3 separate regions of the Homo sapiens genome follow, and regions 2 and 3 are each linked to region 1. The links are contacts of gene promoters, found by promoter capture Hi-C in human tissues and cell types (Jung and others, 2019). All regions are on one chromosome and are shown on one strand. Each heading gives the region's core, a stretch centred on a gene start or on the middle of the fragment in contact. The rest is flanking DNA. Distances are from core to core; before and after follow the strand shown.

What was found. The method cuts DNA at HindIII sites, captures the fragments that hold promoters and counts their contacts. A contact is called where the count stands out against the background at its distance.
Region 2: a contact is called between a fragment that was not itself captured here and the fragment with the promoter of TNC in region 1, in 2 of the 25 tissues and cell types used here (dorsolateral prefrontal cortex and mesenchymal stem cells).
Region 3: a contact is called between a fragment that was not itself captured here and the fragment with the promoter of TNC in region 1, in 4 of the 25 tissues and cell types used here (IMR-90 fibroblasts, hippocampus, lymphoblastoid cells and 1 more).

The regions. Positions count from the first base shown.
Region 1 is chr9:115,116,048-115,119,707 of GRCh38, reverse strand. TNC (tenascin C) reads left to right here and starts at 1,551. Exons shown (of 28, transcript NM_002160.4): 1 at 1,551-1,726. The region is part of intron 2 of LOC124902255 (a long non-coding RNA gene); the gene reads right to left. LOC101928748 (a long non-coding RNA gene) reads left to right here. Exons shown (of 6, transcript NR_110950.1): 6 at 1-169. RefSeq lists an enhancer at 453-1,272. The HindIII fragment of the contact is 7,931 bases long and covers 1-3,660 here.
Region 2 is chr9:115,479,855-115,483,514 of GRCh38, reverse strand. No RefSeq gene overlaps it. Among named protein-coding and RNA genes, the nearest start is that of DELEC1, 340 kb to the right of the region's middle. The HindIII fragment of the contact is 4,934 bases long and covers 1-3,660 here.
Region 3 is chr9:115,394,733-115,398,392 of GRCh38, reverse strand. All of the region lies in intron 5 of DELEC1 (deleted in esophageal cancer 1), which reads right to left. Among named protein-coding and RNA genes, the nearest start is that of DELEC1, 250 kb to the right of the region's middle. The HindIII fragment of the contact is 5,994 bases long and covers 1-3,660 here.

The DNA of each region.
Region 1 (3,660 bases), core at 302-2,801:
TGGGGAAACTGAGGCCCACAGCAACAATAATAACTGTGGGGATGATATCATTTAATATTGAAAATAAGTGGATAATTGAGACCTCCATTATTAGTAGTTAATTTTTAAAAATCAAAGATCTCTCCTAATTAGCTTTATGGAGCAAATAAATATATTTTCCATATTCAAATATGGCTGTGATTTCTACACAAATGGTGTTAACAATCTAATACAGCATAAAACATTGTTTAAATATCATCATACCCTATTCCTAAACAGTAACGTGTAATAGATCTCTGGAGCCCAGTGTTGTAATATAAACACTTCCCAGGTGTATTCCCTTGGTAAAGTTTCATTACTTCTCTAAACGTCAGTTTTCTTGTGTAAAAAAGAGACACTTGTGTCTATCCTACTTACTGGTTACAAGGATATAATAAAAATAGTGAACAAAAATAGTGTTCATAAAGTACCCTGCACAGCACCTGATTATAGACTTAATAAGGGAGGGCTCAATGGTAGTTGCGTTTTGAATTACATTTAATGCTTCATTTTACTTCACTGTCACAAACTACTATGCTCTGCGGCAGGCTCAGAAGTCTCTAGGCACGGGTGAAGTGCTACTTCTCCACTCCCTTAAATGCCCCTGTATGCCCTGAGGATACTCAATGCATGCTAACCACCAAACGAACGGATGACTCAGAGCTTGGAGGAAATCCACGGCAGGCTGGAAAGCAAAGGCGCAGCTTATGGCTCAAGGATTAGGTTGTTACCTTTTTAAATTATTGCTTTTCTTTAAAGAAAGGGCTGTGGGGGACGCCTTTCAGCACTAAGAGAAAACCTCAGAAATCCTTCCCCCTGGAGACCCAGCTGAGAAGACCACACCAGGCACAGGGCATGAACAATGTCAAAAAGCTACTGCCCTGCAGGACACTGGGGCTGGAACAAAGATGCCTCCCAGCAGCTGGGCAAGGCTGGCTCCCACACAAGAAAAGCAGGGCTGATGTGAGCGTCCCGCACGATCCCCACCTGCTGAGACCTAATCCTGGGTTATCTCTCCGCTGGCCCAGAGAAACCTGAAACCCCCCAGGCTTTTGAAGGGCTTTATCTCCTCTTTCCAGGAACTGGGCTCAGTCCCTGTACTCGCTCCGAGGTGCCACTGAGCAGCTGCTGCCCAGAGCCCAGGCGAGCCCTGGTCCCATTTCCAGCTTGACCAAGTACAAGAGGGGAGCCAGGGCTGCGGATCCTACTCCCTCTTGCTCCCCAGGCATCCGTCTCACAATTAGAAAACCCGTGTGGGGAGCAAAGCAAAAATCACATTTCACTAACAGCTACTCGGGGTCGGGGGCGGGCAGGCGGGAATTCCTACTTTCGCCATAAATTGTATGCAAATGGGTTCCTTCCCTGGCCGAGAGCCAGGAGTGAGTGCGTCTTTCATGAGCTAACCCTGTTCCGCTGGGAGGGCTGTTCCTTTAATTCGCCAACTGAAAAAGTGGGAAAGGATGTCTGGAGGCGAGGCGTCCCATTACAGAGGAAGGAGCTCGCTATATAAGCCAGCCAAAGTTGGCTGCACCGGCCACAGCCTGCCTACTGTCACCCGCCTCTCCCGCGCGCAGATACACGCCCCCGCCTCCGTGGGCACAAAGGCAGCGCTGCTGGGGAACTCGGGGGAACGCGCACGTGGGAACCGCCGCAGCTCCACACTCCAGGTACTTCTTCCAAGGACCTAGGTCTCTCGCCCATCGGAAAGGTAAGTCTGTTTTGCCCTCATCACTAGAGATCCTTATGATGTAAGGATTGCATTCCTGGTACCAAATGAGTTGTGATTTTATATTATAATTACAAAACATATGGGGTTTTTTTTTCCACCGCTGGAAAAAAAAGGAGTGTGTATTGGTTATATCAGATGCACCTTGACTTTTCTGGTCTTGTAATTTTGTTTGTTTTAACTTTATGAATAGTCAGACTTGGAAGGAACTTTTCGTAAAGTTGTTATCTTCTGCTGTTCTGCAGAGGAAAAGTAAAAATTTTCTCTTCAACTGCTCTCCTACTTCTAGTCTGGCTGATTCACCTGTATATATCTTTTATTTTGAGGGTTAGGGCAGTAGAGTTTTAAGGCAGACTTTGCTCATAGCCTGCCCCTGGGATGGGTTAGAGGGAGTTTGATAGAGGAGTGCAGGGAGAATATAAAAGTTTATATCTAAACAGCACTTACATAAAGTTTACAAAGAGTTTTGTACCCATTCCCTCATTTGGTCCTCAAAATATTCACCCTGGAAATGAGAGCTGGGGGACAGAAGAGAGGAGGTGGCTCCTGGGCCAGATGAATAACTGACAGGCAGCTAGAGAGTGGTGGAGAACAGCTTTACTGGGGTGCCTAGAGCCAGCAGCGTCCCACATGTCTCTAGAATCACCTCCTCCTCCTCACCTCTCATCACAGAAAGATCTGAGCAACAACATCCCCCAGGTATGGGAACCCTGCTGCCCCTGGTGTACTTTGGAAAGAACACAGGGGTTCTTCTCACCCATCAGTGTTGTAAGAGGAATAAGAGCTTAGGTTTGAAGCCAGAGGTGTTTGGTATTCTCCCCACCACCATACATATGACCCTGAGAAAGATACATCACTTCCTTAATCCTCAGTTTTCACATCTCTAAAATGGGGACAATAGCGTCTGCTGTCGTTTTGAGGAGAAAATGAGGTATAGAAAGATCAGCAATGACTGCTTAATAACTGGAAGTTTGGATAATCATTGTCATTGCCAAAAACTGCCATCACTCTGGAAGTTAAAAGAGGCATTGAGCCAGTCTTGGATTGTTTCTTGTGTGTTGTTCCTCAGCCCGCCCCCAGCCCCCGCTTTTTATCTCACCCAATCTGAGGGTGTCTCACTAGGCTGGCAGGTCTGAGACTTGGCTGTATTTTACAAGCAGGAGGTTGTGTTGGCACAGGTTGGAGAAAAGGTAGTAGCCCGGGGCTGGAAGTTAATGTCAAATTTTGATTCCAGAATGTCAGGAGGTTTTGAGTTTAGGCATCTGCAGATTCTAAAGCTGACAGCTATGAAGTACGATGCTGTTGGAAACTCTTTGGAAAAGCTTTCTGTCCGGAGGGAGGGCAGGACAGGGAGCACCACTTGAAGAATGAATGCCTCTTTTTCATGTTTTTGTAGACTTTTTCCCCCATTTTTACAGAGCTTTCCCATATGTGTTTTAGAAAGGAAAACTACTATCCATCCCAGCCAGGCAAGCCCAATTCAGGACTGAAGAAGATTTATTCAGTCCTAGACAACCAAGTGAAGAGTTTCTGGCTTTGTGCGCATACAAGTCATTTGCAGGAGATGTAAGTCAGCGTGCTTTGGCCCTTGCATTTCAGGAAGGTGACTGCTTTGTGGGGAAGAAAAAGGTGCACAATATGAGTATTCTCTGGTTTGCTCAAACAGGGTAAATTGGACAAGGATTGAAAGGGATGTTGCCAAGCTCTACAGTCATTAAATATTTTTTTCCTCTATGCTTTGTTTTAAAAACCTAGCTTCTCTATTTTATCCCACACTAACCTCCTCCTTCCCCACTCTAAGAAGTGACTAACGTTTCAGCCCTCAACTTTGTCATTCATATAATGGAGATGACAAACTATGTCTCACAGGGCTCTTGCAACATTCAAATGAGGTAATATATGGCAAACACTTGGCA
Region 2 (3,660 bases), core at 429-2,928, 360 kb before region 1:
AGAAATTTAAGAAACTCTGTCAGATCACTAGCTAATGACTGAAATAATGGAACAGAGATTTTAATTACCACACATGACAGGAAATACAGACTTTATAAAAAATAGTCTGGAGTAGTCATTAAACAAATGGATAACCAAGCCCTCACCAAGCAACAACAGCAAACATTAGGGAGGGAAAGATAATCTAGTTTTCAGAGTTACCACATTATAATATTCAAAATGTCTAGTTTTCAAGTACAACAAAAAAATATAACACATAGAAACAGAAAAGTAAGGCCTATTTTCTGGGAAAAATAATTAAAAATATATGGACAGAAACCCTAAAGCAGCCCCCAAAATGAACTGGGTTATATTACATATTTGCCTATGTAGTTATATTTAACGGGGTTCTGTTTTTATTTGTTTGATGTATTGCCTAGTGTCCTTTCATTTTCATCTGAAGGACTCTCTTTAGCATTTCTTGTAGGGAAGATCTACTAGCAACAACTTCCCTTAGCTTTTGTCAATCTGAAAATGTGTTAATTTCTCCTTTATTATTAAAAGGTAGTTTTTTGCTGGATATGTTTTCTTTTTCCTTTTAACCCTGTAAATATGTCATCTCATTGCTTTCTGGCCTCCATGGTTTCAGCTGAGATACAATCTATTAATCGTACTCGGTATCCCTTGTAAATGATGAGTTACTTCTTTCTTGCTGCTTTCAATATTCTCCCATTGTCTTTCTCTTTTGATAGTTTATAATGTTTTTTGGTATGAATTTCTTTGTGTTTATACTCTTGGAGTTTGTTGAACTTCTTAGATGTATAGATTTATTTATCAAATTTGGGAAGTTTTGGGGCCATTTTTTAAAAATATATATATATATTTATTCCTTTTTCTTTCCTCTCCTTCCAGCATTCCCATTATGTATATATTGGTCCACTTGATGGTGTCCCACAGGTCTCCACAAAATATTTAAAACATTCTCCCCTCTTTAATAATGCTTTTATATGAGGTGAATCTTTTCAGGGATTCACAAAATGGCTGAGATTTGTTTCTGTAACCAAGTATGCAGCAAGATTCCACACATGGAGATGAAGAAGTGACAGACAGTAGAATATTAATCTTCAGGCATTAGCAGAAACTGTGGCGAAAGCTTGGGGATTTCACAGGCTATGGAATTGTCAGAGAACTCATCTCAAGTCCTCTGGTACTCTGGAGAACAGAGTTATCTTTTCTGATACTTGAGTGACATCAGTATTGCAAGTGTCTGACACATGGTAGATGCTAAAAACATTTTTTTTTATGTTGAGCAAATAAATCAGAACCAGAAAAAAAGTGACTCAGTAAAGTGGATAGAAGATGGGTTGACAAAGGAGAAGAGAATCTCAGCTCTGCTGAAGACTACCATTAAGATAGTTTATTAAAAATAACTGGAGTCCAAGCATAATTTCCACAGCCCCAGAATAAGTCTGGGTGAAAAGGGCTGAACTGCATGAGGTGATAACAGTCAGACAAATGCCCATTCATCATCTGTTTTTCTTCTATGTATTCTGCCCCATCTTCCTTACCACAATCCTGTCTGTTTTTTTGTTGACAGCTTTATTCTTTGTCTGTATTCTCGATGTGCCAGAAGGATAGATACTCTCAGTGAGGACTCTTTCATTAGCAAGCATAAAATGACTGAGGTTATTCTAGGCTAGGCCATGCGCTTAATACTGGGAATTCAGACATGATTGGGACATAGTCCATACCATACAGGAAACTAAATCTATAGTGGGGTGGTGGGGTGAGGAGGTTCTCATAAGTACACAAATATAATCTCATAAGTACACAATTATAATCCTATGTTGAAGGATTTTAAAAAGTAATGTATTAATTATTTAAATCTTTATTGAGCACCCACAGGGATCCAGAATCTGCCCTAGGATGAAAAAGTCACTGTAGAAAAACACAACTATAATCCCTGCATACATGGAGATTTCTTGCTTTGTGGTCATGGAGGGGTTGGGGAGGACCATACAAAAATCAAAGTGTGTTGAGGACTATGAAGGAATTTGATTTTGTGATATTCTGACTAGAGAGCAGCATTAGTCTGATGGAGAAAAAAAACTACTTAATGTAGCTCTTAATGTAGCTATATTAAGCCAAACTTCAAATGAAATCTTAGTAGAAGATTGATAAAGTACTTGCATTTGTGTTTACAAGGAAATTCAATTCTATTATTTACTGTTTACAAAACAGCATAAGTTCCTTTTCAAACAATATCAGCACCATTATTTTCATTTGATTAGCACAGCTAACACAGTAGGGTAGTTTCACTGTGAAAGCTTAATTCTTAAATAATTTTTCTTTTCATTTATAATTATTATTTTAAACCTCACCTTTCTCAGCTGGAAATTAAAAACAGGTCAATGACTACCCACCTCACAGTATTGTTTATGAGTTCAAATGCATGAGATGAAACATACAAGAGAACACATAGAAGTGGTATATAATAGTTTTCAATAAATTAGAGTTAAATCTAAATCATAAGCAGGGTCAACTATGTGTTAGAAATTATAACTGCTAGATCTTAGTCCCCAGAGATATCTAAACAGAAGTAGAATATGATTCCATATCAAAAATACTGCAGAAGAGATTTCTAAGTTGGGTTGAGCCACTAGATTATAAATTTCAAAGAAAGGATTCACCTAACTTTTCTCTTACATGATTTCCAGGACCCAGTTAGGTGTCTGTTATACTGTAGAAGTAATGGAGTAATGGTTAATTTCTTGTGTCAGCTTTAGTTGTTTTTTGTTGTTGTTGTTGTTGTTGTTTTGTTTTGTTTTTGTTTTTTTTTTTTTTTGAGACGGAGTTTCTCTCTTGTTGCCCAGACTGGAGTGCAATGACGCAGTCTCGGCTCACTGTAACCTCTACCTCCCAGGTTCCAACTATTCTCTTGCCTCAGCCTCCTGAGTAGCTGGGATTACAGGTACCTGCCACCACACCCAGCTAATTTTTGTATTTTTAGTAGAGACGGGGTTTCACCATGTTGGCCAGACTGGTCTCGAACCCCTGACCTTGTCATCAGCCAGCCTTGGCTTCTGGGATTACAGAAGCCGTGAGCCACCGCCCCCCAGCCTCTTGTGTCAACTTTATTGGGCCATGGGTTGGCCAGACATTTGGTCAAATATTATTCTGGGTGTGTCTGTGAGAATCTTTCTCTTTGAAATTAACATTTGAATTGGCAGAATGTGTAAAGAAGATTGCCCTCCCTAATGTGGGTAGCCCTAATCCAATCAGTTGAAGACCTGATTAGAACAAAAAGACTAAGGGAATTTCTCTTACCTGACTGCCTTCAGCTAAGAGCTATTCAATCTAATATTGGCTCATCTTTGTTCTCAAGCCTGCCAGCTTTCAGACTGGAATTTACAATATCAGCTCTAGTGGTTCTAGACCTTCAGAGTCGGATTGGGACTACTAGACCATTAACCTTCTTGGGTTTCCAGCTTGCTGACTGATAATCTAGGGACTTCTCAGCCTTCATAATCACAGGAGCCAACACTTTATAATAAGTCCTTTTAGATAGATTAGATATAGATACAGATATAGATTAGATACTATTGATTCTCTTTCTCTGAAAACCCTAGCAAATACGGTAAGCAATAAATTATTAGTAGAATGAATTAAAGTCTTCAATAA
Region 3 (3,660 bases), core at 856-3,355, 280 kb before region 1:
AGAGAGGGACAAGGAATTTTTACAAAATGTTCTTTTTTATAGTTTCCAAAACTACTCAAGTCACAGCCCAGTGTGGTTGGCATGGGAAGGGGTGGTTGTGCTCCACGCTGTCATTGAGGACCTCAGCTCCTTCCACCCTACAATGCTTTCATCCACAACACAGGGTCTCAATGGTTGCTGCAGAAGGAGCAGAGTTTAGAACACATGTCAGGTTTTAGGGCCAGGCCTGGAAATGGTGATGTCGCTTCTAGGCAAAACCGAGTCATATCATGCTCACTTCACTGCAAAAAGAGAATGTGAGGTGTCTTCATAAATACCCAGGACAAACTGGAAGGCTTTCATGCACATATTTTACTGTCTCTGTTGTATGCCTTCTTTGAATTTTTTGCTTCTACCCTGGCCCCCTTCAAACTAATATTAACCCAGCAGCCAATGGAATCATTGAAAAAATATAATTTGATTATGCCACTTCAGTGCTCAAAACTCAGCAGTGACTTTACAGTTTTTACAGAGTAAAAGCCTAAGTCATCACAATGACCTGTATGGGCCCCCATGATTTGGCCCCATTATCTTGCAAACCTCAGCTTCCACTACTCTCCCGTCACTCACAGGCAAGGCTCTAGCCATGCCTGGCACCTTAGAATCTCTTCTCTTGCTTTGTCCTCTGCCTGGAAAGCTCTTTCCCAGATTCCTCTCTGGAGCTTATTCAAACTCAAATTTACCTTTTCAATGAGGACTACCATAGTCATCCTACTTAAAACTGTAATTGTCCTTCTACCTAACACTTCTGATCTCCTTTGCCCTCCTCTCTTTCTTCCAGATCACTTAGCACCTTTTATCTAGTATTTAAACTGGTATTGTGATTATCGTCCGTTGTCTGTGCCCACTTCGCCTACACAATAAACACTCTTTAAGTAGAAAGCCGTGCTGCGCAAGGTGATGGCTGACAATGGAAAGGGAGACATTATACATATTTTATTCTATATCTTACTGCAGAGGCAAATGTTTGTGTCTTTCTTGTTCTGTGACGTAACCTGAGTACCTAGAGTAGGGCTTGTAACGTAGCAGGTGCTCTATTCATCCTTGCTAAAGGAATGAATGAATGAGTTAGAATATATGTGACTGAATGGAATGAATGGACCCAGGACAAGGCCCTGAGACTTTGTCAATTTTTTCAAAACAGGTTTAAATCCTGTACTTTGCACTTAATAGCTGCGGACCTTGGTAGATTCATTTTGCATAGGCAATGTTCTGTTTTCTCTTCTGCAAAATGAGGGTTTTCACCATAACTATTATATCTACCTCTTAAATTCACTGTAAACATTGAAACATTGAATACATCTTATACAAAGGGAAATAACTTTAACAACAGAGGCACTAATCAGTGTTATGTATCTAAGGGTATGGATTGCTTACTCTGCTTCTTGCATGGGGAATATGTATTGCTCTGGTGTGATATCTGGTTGAAGACTGGTAAGGAATCCCTGGGATAATTCCCTGAAAGCCTGCTGTCTACCACTGCTTGCTTGGCAACTTCTGATAAATAATAAGACTACATCCAGTTGGTTTCATAGACAGGCCCTAGGAGGAGTGTTCAGGGCTCTTTCTGAGGCAGCCAAGGCAAGTAGAGGCACACCAGGCCGCGGTTGTTGTTGCACTTGCTGGGACTTTCTGTTGAAAGAACTATCTCCCCTCTGGTTAGAAAACAAAGAATTCAAAGGCAATCAGACATCTCTGCCTACCACAACCCTTCATGCAATCAGGTTGAACTGCCAGGCCAAACCCTGTCTGGAATGAAAAGAAATAAGAGATGGTTATCCTTAATGCCCTATTATGCCTAAGAACCCTTTGCTTTCTTCACTCTTGGGTTTCATATGGGCTCCAGGAGGTGGCATTAAAGAGTGAAGCTTTATCTATTCTCTGTTAGTGTTTGTGTTTTATCCATTCTCTGCACTTGTGTCCCCTGGAGGAAAACAAAATTACTCCAACTCCACCCTGGAACTTTAATGTCAACTCTTCACTGGGGAGCTACAGAAAAGGATATTGGTGAAAAGTATGTGGCTACTTGCCATGAACAGATAAGGATTGTCTGTAACTGAACAGATAAGGGTTGTCTGTAGCTACTTAAAACTGAATGACTGCCTACAAATGCTTGAACAATTTATTCTTTCAAACAAAATGATTTTCTCTACATCATTCTATGAGTACTACTTATCTTTTTATGTGAAAAACATTATCATGGTCATGAAGAAACTAAACCACATCCTGCCTGAGTGATCATCTACAGTTTCATTTATAACCTTGAAATTTAGAAAATTTTCCTGAGCAAACAGACCTTCCTCAAATTCCCACTTTTACTATGATTTTTATCTATGGTCTACTCACCTTTTTAAAACCCATAATAAGAAGCATTTGCTCTTGCAATCTGCTCTGATTAAGGAGAGTTTAGAAGTCCTATGGGAAGTTTCAGAAAGGAGTTCCCAGAGGCTATTTACAAACCTCATGGAATCTAAACACTTCATTGAATAGGAAAGTTGGCATCTTGCCTTCTAATGGAAGTAAGATAAACATGGCCAGGTGGAAGGGAAGCTGCCCTCCAAGACCAAGTTCTAGCCTGAAGAGCCCTTTAGCTCATCCAAAACTCTGAGAACATCTTAAACGGAAGACTCTCAAAGAAATAAATGTTCCCATCTGTGACTGCCTCATTCCTGGCTCCTCCTTGGAACCCCTTAACTTGCCACTGAAAACCCTGGGGAGTTATATCTTGAGCTGTGGACAAACTGATTTCAGGGGCTTTCCTTGTTACCACAGTGATATCTGGGCAACAATAAGCAATTTACCAAAGGACATGCCCTTTTTTTTCCTGTTATCTTCACCCCTCTGTTTTCCCAAACTGAACTGCTCTGTGGGAACTCACAGACATCCCCTCAGATCACTCTCTCAGCTCCCTCTAGCAATGTCCCGCTCAAGCTCACAAACCCACTCCTTCTCTCTGTGCTTCTGACCTGATAAGACCTTATTATAGCTCCTATGCATTGATTTCTACTAAGGTCAGGCCCTGTGCTTGGAGACTTACATACACAGAATCAATTAATCCTCATATACCTTTGGGGTATTTTCCAATATGATTACTATTTAACACAGGAGGTAGCTGAGAATTAAAAAGTTTAAGAGACCTATCAGAGATTGCACAGCAAGGAAGTGACAGAGATTGTTAATAATGAATGTTTTTCCTCCTTATCTCTTCTCTTTGAGCTTCCTTGAACATCTATTTCATCAGTTCTTGGAAAACACCGATGGACATGCAATGTCACAGCAGTTGTGTGACTATGAGCAACTCCTTCTTTCTCTCTGAATCTGTTTCCCCTTATGTCAAATAATATGATGGGGTTAAGCTTTGTCTATGCCCCAGTGTCCTGGGATTCCAGGGATGCACATGATGGTCGTTGAAGCTGAAACACCCCAATTTGAAAACTCTCACATATTTGATCTCACTAAGCCTACTGAGAAGTTACCAGCTGGCAATGCTATATGGCTCAGAAAGAGGAGAAATTGGGAACATTTCAGTCTAGAGGTCAAGAGAAATAAGACCAGATGCAGAGTTTGGTCACTAAACATTCTTCTGATTTTTGGTAAGATAAAAAAGATCATTAGGTCCTC